Regions from separate parts of the Homo sapiens genome. Here region 2 is linked to region 1. The links are contacts of gene promoters, found by promoter capture Hi-C in human tissues and cell types (Jung and others, 2019). All regions are on one chromosome and are shown on one strand. The core of a region is centred on a gene start or on the middle of the fragment in contact, and the rest is flanking DNA. Distances in the headings are between cores, read along the strand shown.

Region 1 (5,230 bases), core at 1,322-3,821:
TTCTCTCGCGTAATCTGAATTTATGACAGAACCATAGTTATCTCATCAGACAAGTACTGACAGTGCTCTTCAGTGATACCTTTAAAATATTGTTTTTTCTTTGATATCTTCAGTTAATTCTGTTTTTTTGGTGGGTGGGAAAGTTGAAGTAAATTTTCTCAGATTTAATTTTAATCTTAGAAGATTCAAGAGACTGCAGAATAGTGTGTGGTTTTTTTATTGTTTGTTTTTAAGAGTAAAACCCACTGGGTGTGGTGGCTCACGCCTGTAATCCCAGCACTTTGGGAGGTGGAGGCGGGCGGATCACATGAGGCTGGGAGTTTGAGACCAGTCTGGCCAACATAGCGAAACCTCGTATCTACTAAAAATATTAAAATTAGCCGGCGTGGTGGTGGGCGCCTGTAATCCCAGCTACTCGGGAGGTTTAGGCACGGGAATCGCTTGAACCCGGGAGGCAGGGGTTGCGGTGAGCCGAGATTGTGCCACTGGGCGACAGAGTGAGACTGTGTCTCAAAAGAGTAAAAACCTCTGTAAATCCTTTTGATGCCCAATGACTTTGATTTCAAAGCTAGTATCATCTAGGTAGATTTATGTTGATCACTTGAGAAACAGAATTTGAAAAGTTAATTTATTTCTCAAAGGAGATGTTGTACTATCCTGCAAAAGTACCAGAGCTTTGTTCTCTTCCCTTTGCTTTGCTAAAAATTTCTGGGTCTTTTGGTTTATTTTATGTGTGTGTTGGTCCACTGGAAAAGTTGTAGCTTTGTAGCTAAAAACAGCTTTGATAAAAGGATGAAAAAGGTCTTCAGGGCATCTCTAGACTTCATCTACCATCAGTTGACTTTTTGTAGCTAATACTTTAATGAATAACATTGGTATTATTTTAGAAGTGCAGTGTTGGCATTTATTATAGTTTTGTCGTTGTTTTTCTCTGCCCGAAAGATTTGGCTCATGTTGGTCTCTAAATTGGATTACATTCTTACTGTCTGTGACTTTGGCTTTAGCATTAGTGGATTGGTAATAGATATTCTCAATTTTTAAATCTGGCTTGACCATATGGCAGGCCATGTTATTTTGAAACCCCTATTTAGTGTAAGTCTCACAAGACATGGAACAAAAATTTTTATAAAATTTTAAACTGGTTTGACCGGGCGTGGTGGCTCACACCTGTAATCCCAGCACTTTGGGAGGCCGAGTCAGGCGGATCATGAGGTCAGGAGATCGAGACCACCCTGGCTAACACGGTGAAACCCCTTCTCTACTAAAATTACTTCTCTACAAAAAATTAGCTGGGCGTGGTGCTGGGCACCTGTAATCCCAGCTACTCAGGAGGCTGAGGCAGGAGAATGGCAGGAACCCGGGAGGGGGAGCTTGCAGTGAGCCAAGATCGGCCACTGCACTCCAGCCTGGGCGACACAGCGAGACTCCGTCTCAAAAAATAAAAATAAAAAAAATTTTAAACTGGTTTACATTCTGATTTCAGGTTTGCATTTGTTAAGAGTGGTTGGAGAGATTATGAAGTAGGCAATTCAGTTAAGTGTTTGGTTTAGGAACACAGAATGAGGAGATAAAATAAATTTAAAATGGAAACTATCAGAAATTTATGAAACTGCAGTGTTCAACATTACTGAAAGAAAAAGCAGGGCCAACGTATATGGGAGTGAGTGTGTATGAAGAGAGAGAAATGCAACATCACATCAGCTGCTCTGGGAGAGGGACAGAGCACCACCTATTTCAAAGCTATGCATTTTGTTCTAGAACTTTGATTGAAGAAATAGAGACAATCTATAGACATTTGAGTTTGCTAGTGGATTAGTGGAATGCTGAAAGCTTTTTTTGTGAGACAGAGTCCCACTCAGCCACCCAGTCTGGAGTGCAGTGGCGCAATCTCGGCTCACTGCAACCACCATCTCACGGGTTCAAGTGATTCTCCAGTCTCAGCCTCCCGAGTAGCTGGGATTACAGGCACCCGCCGTCATGCCCGGATAATTTTTTAAAATTTTATTTTAGTAGAGATGGGGTTTCACCATGTTGGCCAGGCTGGTCTTGAACTCCTGACCTCCGGTGATCTGCCTGTCTGAGCCTCCCAAAGTTCTAGGATTACAGGCGTGAGCCACCGTGCCCTGCCGGAATGCTGAAAGCTTTTTTAAACCTTTTAGCCTCTTGTTCTTGTGTCAGTGCCTACCATTGGGTGCCATGGTAATCAGTGGAAATTACTCCTGGCTTTCAGTGGTAGAAAAGCTTTCTGTTTTATAGAGCAATGTTGCTTGCTTGCTTTTTTTTTTTTTTAAGATTAAGTGGGCCGGGCACGGTGGCTCACGCCTGTAATCCCAGCACTTTGGGAGGCCGACGTGGGCGGATCACGAGGTCAGGAGATTGAGACCATCCTGGCTAACACGGTGAAACCCCATTGCTACTAAAAATACCAAAAAAATTAGCTGGGTGTGGTGGCGGGCGCCTGTAGTCCCAGCTACTTGGGAGGCTGAGGCAGGAGAATGGCGTGAACCCGGGAGGCGGAGCTTGCAGTGAGCCGAGATCGTGCTACTGCACTCCAGCCTGGGTGACTGAGCGAGACTCCGTTTCACAAAAAAAAAAAAAAAAAAAAAGATTAAGTGGAAGTATTTCCTTATTTATGTCTTCTTAAATTAGAATTCTGAGAAAGACCCATTTTTTAAAAGCTTACTGATTTAAAAGACCAGATTAAGATTATCTAAGGTAATTCCTTTTTTCTTTCTTTTTTTTTTGAGATGGAGTTTCCTTCCTGTTGCCCAGGCTGGAGTGCAATGGCGCTGTCCTGGCTCACTGCAACTTCTGCCTCCCGGGTTCAAGTGATTCTCCTGCCTCAGCCTCCCAAGTAGCTGAGATTACAGGTGCCCGCCACCATGCCTGGCTAATTTTTGTAGTTTTAGTAGAGATGGGGTTTCACCATGTTGGCCAGGCTGGTCTCAAACTGCTGACCTCAAGTGATCCGCCCGCCTCCGCCTCCCAAAGTGCTGGGATTACAGGTGTGAGCCACCGTGCCCAGCTTAATTTTTAAGTTTATTCTGTTGAACCTATTTTGCCATAGATAAAATATTTTTATGATTTAATAATTCATTGCTCCAAACTTACTAATGCATTATATCAAGAGAGGACTTTATGTATTAATTCATTCACCTGTTAGAATTGGAATACTGGCCGGGCACGGTGGCTCATGCCTGTAATCCCAGCACTTTGGGAGGCCCAGGCGGGCAGATCACGATGTCAGGAGATCGAGACCAACCTGGCTAACACAGTGAAACCCTGTCTCTGCTAAAAATACAAAAAAATTAGCCGGGCGTGGTGGCAGGCACCTGTAGTCCCAGCTACTTGGGAGGCTGAGGCAGGAGAATGGTGTGAACCCGGGAGGCAGACCTCGCAGTGAGTGGAGATCGCGCCACTGCACTCCAGCCTGGGCGACAGAGCAAGACTCCGTCTCTCAAAAAAAAAAAAAGAATGGGAATACTAAGGGCATCAGTGGAATGTATTCTTGTTTACTGGTGGGTAATCATGTCTCCATGCATGTCTGTGTGCAGTCCTGTAGCACTTAGAAAATATATTCCCTATGTTGATTACAGACACTCAACTTCTGCCGAGTGTTGTAGTTAATAAAGCTTAAAAAATTCTGGGCTGGGTGTGGTGGCTCATGCCTGTAAACCCAACACTTTGGGAGGCCAAGGTGAGCGGATCACCTGAGGTTGGGAGTTCAAGACCAGCCTGACCAACATGGAGAAACCCTGTCTCTACTGAAAATACAAAATTAGCCCAGACGCGGTGGCTCACGCCTGTAATTCCAGCACTTTGGGAGGCCGAGGAGGGTGGATCAGCCTGGCCAACATGGAGAAACCCCATCTCTACTAAAAATACAAAAAATTACCCAGGCATGGTGATGCATGCCTGTAATTCCAGCTACTCGGGAGGCTGAGGTTGCAGTGAGCCGAGATCGTGCCATTGCACTCCAGCCTGGGCAACAAGAAGGAAACTCCATCTCAAAAAAAAAAAAAAAATTAGTCGGGCATGGTGGCACATGCCTGTAATCTCAGCTACTCGGGAGGCAGAGGCAAGAGAATCGCTTGAACCTGGGAGGCGGAGGTTGCGGTGAGCCGAGATTGTGCCATTGTACTGCAGCCTGGGCAACAAGAGTGAAACTCGGTCAAAAAAAAAAAAAAAAAGTCCGGACACTTTATAATTAGATGAGCATGTCAAAAGAGTCTACAATAGGTTTCAGAAAATTTCTCATAGGAATTTTAAAATAATTCCTAAAATCTAGGGAGTGAGAGAAATTCAGTAGTTTTCAAAAGGATTGGCACTGTCTGAGTTAGAGCCCAGCTCAGCTCTGTTGCCTCACTGGCTGATTTGCAGTGTTAGGACTTTTATTCGCACTGAAAATCAAGATCAGTTCAACTTCTACCCTTCCACTCCACAGGAGCTTTCTGTCCTCCCTGAGCCTGCCTTAATTTAGGCCACCTGCAGTGTTAGGACTTCTGTGTCTGTCCTTATCTGTGAAACAGGCTCCTAGAGCCTCCTTCATGGGGTCATTGTGAGGATTAAATGAGTCCTGATGTGGGCACTGATAACAGAGCTCAGTGCAAGGATTAGCTATTTCTGTTGCTGATGGCCTTGCTTTGTAAAAATTTCTTTTATGGCAAGGTTAACAAATGTTATAAGATGACAGTTTACTGAGATTTTTCTTTTTTTCTCCATGGTTCCAGAAGAATATTAATTCAGGGTGTGGAACATGCATATTAGCTATCTTTGCAAATCCCTATCACTTATTTACTGCCTTACTTTCTACTAAATCTCTCACATCCTTATCTTTTCTTGAAAGGTTTTTTTTTCTTTTTCTTTTTTTTTTTTTTTTGGGACAGGGTTTTGCTGTGTCACCCAGGCTGGAGTGTGGAATGTGATGGTATGATCATGGTTCACTGCAGCCTGGACCTCCTGGGCTCATACGATCTTCTTCTCTCAGTCTCACAAGTAGCTAGGACCACGGGCACATGCCACCGTGCCCAGCTAATTTTTTTTATTGTTTGTAGAGACAGGCTGGTCTCCAACTCCTGGGTTCAAGTGATCCTCCTGCCTTAGCCTCCCAAAATGTTGGGATTATAGATGTGAGCCACAGTAACCTGCTCTTAAAGGCTTTCCTTTACCTTTGTAGAATAATCTTGAACTATGCCTCATTTTGAAAACTGGTAAGTTTATGTCCTTTTTT
Region 2 (5,230 bases), core at 2,035-4,534, 340 kb after region 1:
ACCCTGGGGGCGTTTCTCATCTGTGAGCTCTGCCAGTGTGTAAGTACCCGGCTGGGCGCCGCGCTGGGCAGAGGTTGTGACAGAGGGGAGTGACCGAGGCCGTGACAGAGGGGAGTGGCCGAGGCCGTGACAGAGGGGGTGGCCGAGGCCGTGACAGAGGGGAGTGGCCGAGGCCGTGACAGGGGAGTGGCCGAGGCCGTGACAGTGGGGAGTGGCCGAGGCCGTGACAGTGGGGAGTGGCCGAGGCCGTGACAGAGGGGAGTGGCCGAGGCCGTGACAGTGGGGAGTGGCCGAGGCCGTGACAGAGGGGAGTGGCCGAGACCTGAGGCCGGCCCTGCTGCTTGGGGCAAGGTCTGCTCAGCTCGCCTGTGTCGGGGGCGCCTGCTGGTAGTTCAGTGAGTCACTCCACAGCTTTGGCACAGGAGGCCCCCCTGCAATGCCCTTTGCTCAGCTGAGAGACGCTGCACAGGGACCTCCCCAACACAGGCTTAGTCCCTCTCCCAGGACACGGCTCCAGGGAACGCCTGGTACCTTGTCTCTTCCCCGTGGCGGACACAGCCCCACCTCAGTGAGCAGAGCATGCAGCTCTCCGGGATGCGGTGCAGTCGGAGGTGTGCCCCACGTGAGCCTGGAGGCTGCCAAGGGCTCTGTGTCCGCCGTCCACCCCTGGACTTGGCCTTCTGCACACCTGCCTTCCCCAGTGGGCCCTGCATGTCTCCCTTGCACAGAGGGGCCGGGGCACCCCAAGGCTTCTGTAGCCACCCTGCTGCGGCGTGGAGGTGCTGGGCTGTGACGAAAGGACCTGCCTGAGGAGAGCCCCACGCACCGTCCCGCCTCTGCCTCTGCCTCTGCCTCTGTGATTTGATGAATGTCTGTGAAAGACAGAAAAACAGAACAGCTTCACCAAGAAAGAAGATGGTGTGTTTGGAAAGCCCGGGAGCCAGGCGGGCGGGCGCTGGGAGAAGCTGCTGTGTGGCCGCAGAGGCTCCTGCGCTCCGCCTGGCCCACCCAGCATGGCTTCTGGTCCCCACGTGCCTCACGGTCCAGTGTGGCTGCTGAAGCGCCAGGGACGGTCTTCATGATCGCCTGGCAGGAGAAAAGGTCATAAGAAAATGTCGTCCCAGAAGTTATTGCACGATTTCTGCTTGGGTCACGTTGGCCAGAGCTGAGTCACAGACAGGCCGCTCCTTGCTTAGAGGCACTGGGTGCTGGCCAAGGCTGGGGACCAGGGGACAGTGGAGATGGCGAGTAACGAGCTGCCGGTGCCAGGGCAGGTGTGCCTAGGAGCCGGGCCTGCTCACTCTGGGGCAGCGGCCCTCTGCCAGGGGCTCTGGTGGATGGAGGCCAGGATGCTCCGATGACCAGGCTGCCCCCGCTCGCTTGTTGGTGGTGTGGAAGCGCTGGCGGTGAGGGTTGGTCGGCCCCGCTGTGCATGTGTGGGTCTGAGCCCTGGCCGCCAGGTCTCCGTGCTGGGCCCCTCTCAGAATCCAGCTCCAGGCTCCTCCCAGCTCCTCCCAGCTTCAGGTCCTGTGAGGGTCGGTGGGGAGGTGGGGGCTGCCCGGGACGCTCTCCCCCTGCAGCCTCCGGCCGTCCTTGTGAGGCAGCAGCGGTGGGGTGAGGGCCTGCCTGCTGCGCTGGTTTCTGCTGGCTCAGGCCTGGCGTTTCCCTGGCGATCCAGGTGTTAGGGGGAGCAGACAGGCAGGAGTGGGCAAGGCCCTCACCACGGTCCTGTCCTTGCAGATCCAGCACACGGAAGACATGGAGAACGAGATCGACGAGCTGCTGCAGGAGTTCGAGGAGAAGAGTGGCCGCACCTTTCTGCACACCGTCTGCTTCTACTGAGCCCAGCGCCCGCATGGAGCCGCCTCTGGAGCTTCCTGTTGTTCATACTTTTTCCTTCCTGACATTTGTTTTTACTTACAGGTGTTCTGCTGGTGACGGTAGCATTACCCAAATAAACTGTGCATATGAAATGGGAGAGGAGATGCCAAAACGCCAGATGAAAGCAATCAAGTTTCTTCTTTTCCACTTTTACTTATGAGCAGGATATTGATTACAAAGTTTTTCTTCTTTAACCAAAAAGGAAAGACAACGGTTTGTGTGCACTTCCCGACATACCTGTGTCTTCGTGTGCCTGCCTTCCCTCCCTCCTCCCCACCGGGCCGGACTGTACAGAGCCCTGCTGCGGCGTGTTAGGAATGACCTGGAATTGTCAATAAACAGATGCTGCTGTCATTGTGCCTGGTCCTGAATTCCTGGCCCGACCCTCGCCCCTGAGGAGGTGGCAGAGGCCTAGCCCTGCCGCCCTCAGTGACCTCCGACCACTGCTTGGGAGGAGTAGCTCAGACCTGGTGGTGCTGACAGGGTCTGGGCCTACCCGTGCCTGTGCTGCCTGAAGCGGAAGCCGCCTGCTCCTGCCACAACTGCTGCCTGTGGTGGAGCGGCGTCCCCTCTCCATGTGGAACCCCCCCGGGCGGGGATCCCCCAAGGCCAGCTACGGGGGAGGCTGAGCCGGGAGGATCGCCTGAGCCCAGGAGTGGAGGCTGCAGTGAGCCTGGATGGCGCCACGACCCAGGCTGGGTCCCAGGCATAGCTTCCCGCTGACTTCCTGCTGAGGCCGGGGGTCGGCTCCCGGGCCTGAGACATGGTCACCGGTCGTGGATGAGAGTTTGGCCTCAGGACCCCGAGCCAGGGACAGCCACAGCGGAGTGGTGGCCACTGGGCCTCTGAATGGCCGGCGTCCCGACCCATGGGCCTGGGCTGACCCCCTCGTCCCCGCCCTAAGGGAAGCCTGTGCGGGGCGGCCCTGCCCTCGGCTCCTGTGCCACATCCCTCCGTTGAGGATTCCAGGGGTCATCCCGTCCCTGACCTGTGGCCCCCACGGCCGTGGGGCTGTCGCGACCTTGCGGACCCCACCCTGGAGGCACGTGCGTGCCGAGCGGACTGGGGCAGTCCCGCACCCGGCGACCTGGGAGTCCAGGACGTAGGGCGGAGCAGTGGGGCGGGAAGGGCCTCGGCGCCCCTCCAGGACCGGAGGACTGGCGTCCAGGGTCACCGGACAGGCCACCGGGGCTGGGTCTGACCAGACTGGGGCGGGACGCGAAGCCGAGGCTCCCGGGGAGGGGTCCCGGCCGGCGTCCGGGGGATGGCGGTCTCCTCCCGGCGCTGGCACGGGGCGGCCTGCGGTCTGCGCGGTCCCTCCCGAGAGGCGGAGGAAGGCGGCGGGGAGGGAGGGGGGAGGAGGGAGGAGGAGGCAGGGAGGGGGCCGGAGCCGAGCGGAGCCGAGTCGAGCCGAGCCGAGCGCATCGCAGGGAGGACCCGAGGGCGGAGCGGAGCGCGGCGGGCCGGGCCGAGAGACCCCAGAAAGGCCCCGCGTCCCTCCCCGGCGCCCCCCCCCCCGCGCCTCCTCCCCCCGGCCGGTGCCGGGGTTGCAGCGAGCGGCGGCGGACGATCCAGGGAAGCGCTGACCTCTGCGGAGGCGGCGGGGGCTCAGCATCGGGCCGGGGCCGGGGGGGCGCCGGGGCCGGGGGGCGGCGCTCCGGCCCGGCCCGGCCCCGCCCGATGTCCATGAGCGCGAACACCATGATCTTCATGATTCTGGGGGCGTCGGTCGTGATGGTGAGCGGAGGGGCTTCCCGCGCGCGCCCCCTGCTCCCCGCCCGCGCGCGCCGCCTGGCCCACCTCCCGCGCCTTGTTTACCGCCCGTGCGGCCTGCGCTCCCCTCCCCGGCCTGCGCTCCCCTCCCCGGCCTGCGCTCCCCTCCCCGGCCTGCGCTCCCCCACCCCGGCCTCCGCTCCCCTCCCCAACCTGCGATCCCCACACTCCCTACGCTCCTCTCTCCGGCCTACGCTCCCCCCACCCCGGCCTGCGCTTCCCCCTCCCCGGCCCGCGGTCCCCTCCCGGGCCTGCGCTCCCCCCACCCCGGCCTGCGCTCCCCTCCCCAGCCTGCGATCCCCATACCCGCTGCGCTCCCCCTACCAAGGCCTACGCTCCCCTCACCCCGGCCTGCGCTCTCGCTCCCCGCTTGCGCTGCCCCGACCCCGGCCTGCGCTCCCCACCCCCAGCCCCGCTTCGTCCCGCCCGCTCCTTGGCGCTGACCGGTCATGAGCTCTTCCAGGCCATCGCGTGCTTGATGGACATGAACGCGCTGCTGGACCGATTCCACAACTACATCCTCCCGCACCTGCGGGGCGAGGACCGCGTCTGCCACTGCAACTGTGGCCGGTGAGTCCACAACCGGCGCCGGCTCGACACGCGTGAGCGCACATGTGTGGCGGGGCCCACTCGGGGCGCGGGGGAACCAGCCCCACGCAGGCCGCGAGCCGCCTTCCACCCTTGAGGGCTGCCAGGTGCGCAGGGGGAGGAGCTGTCTCAAGGTGGGCGGGGGTCTCCTGGGGGCGCATGGCTTTAGGACGCCGTTCCTAGAGGCCTCCAGGGTGATGGCGGAATGGGTCACGGGGCCTCCTGGTCCAGCCTGGAGGCCGGAAAGCCGCAGCCCAGTGTGATGTCCACAGTGGAGACCCAAGCCAGCCTCATCAGGGCTGGGGCAGGAAGCGCCTGCTGGCACAGGGCTGGGCCCTGCACTGAGTCCCTGGGCAGGGGAATGCAGGTCAAGGCGGGAAGGGCCTGCCTTGAGGGGCACTGGGCACCACCCCCGGGCTGGAGAGGAGCTGAGGGATGGGCTGGGGGGGCAGCGGGGAGGTGGAGCTTCCTCAAGGTCATTCAGATTGAGGGGAGCGCCCAGACCCCCCGCACCCACCGTGTGACCCCCTCTGTGCACGTGTAGCGATGGGATCCTCTTGGCCATGCATGTTTGTACGTCCATGTACGAAATAAACATCTTCTCATGAGACGCGCATGTGTGTGGCGTCTGTGCATATACATGTGCGTACACACAGCCCCCGCGCACGCACGCATGCACTTCCACCCCTCAGGACACCCTCACGCAGTGGCCGCTGTTAACCCTGCTGAACAGATGAGGAAGTGGACGGAGGATTTAGAGGACAGGCTTTTCCAAGGTCACACAGCTAGTGAAGGACAAAGGGGGCACCAGCCCAGAACCCGTGTTCGTCATCTCTGCTGCCTCCTGCTCCGGGGGTCTCTGTGCATACGTGTGGGTGTGGGGCATGTGTGTTCAGGACAGCTGCATGTGTTGCTAAGCGTGTGACATGCCTATGGGTGCAGCAGGCGTGTCGATGAAGAACACGGGTGTTAGAGAAGGCAGAGATCG

What was found. Contacts are between HindIII fragments. The study calls those that stand out against the background at their distance.
Region 2: a contact is called between the fragment with the promoter of TMEM240 here and a fragment that was not itself captured in region 1, in 2 of the 25 tissues and cell types used here (dorsolateral prefrontal cortex and heart right ventricle).

What each region holds. Positions count from the first base shown.
Region 1 is chr1:1,882,928-1,888,157 of GRCh38, reverse strand. The region is part of intron 1 of GNB1 (G protein subunit beta 1); the gene reads left to right. Among named protein-coding and RNA genes, the nearest start is that of GNB1, 5.5 kb to the left of the region's middle. The HindIII fragment of the contact is 4,669 bases long and covers 237-4,905 here.
Region 2 is chr1:1,538,678-1,543,907 of GRCh38, reverse strand. It overlaps TMEM240 (transmembrane protein 240), which reads left to right and starts at 3,284. Exons shown (of 4, transcript NM_001114748.2): 1 at 3,284-3,618; 2 at 4,118-4,224. The coding sequence starts at 3,562. SSU72 (SSU72 homolog, RNA polymerase II CTD phosphatase) reads left to right here. Exons shown (of 5, transcript NM_014188.3): 4 at 1-39; 5 at 1,741-2,235. The coding sequence ends at 1,842. RefSeq lists a silencer at 4,405-4,699. The HindIII fragment of the contact is 20,414 bases long and covers 1-5,230 here.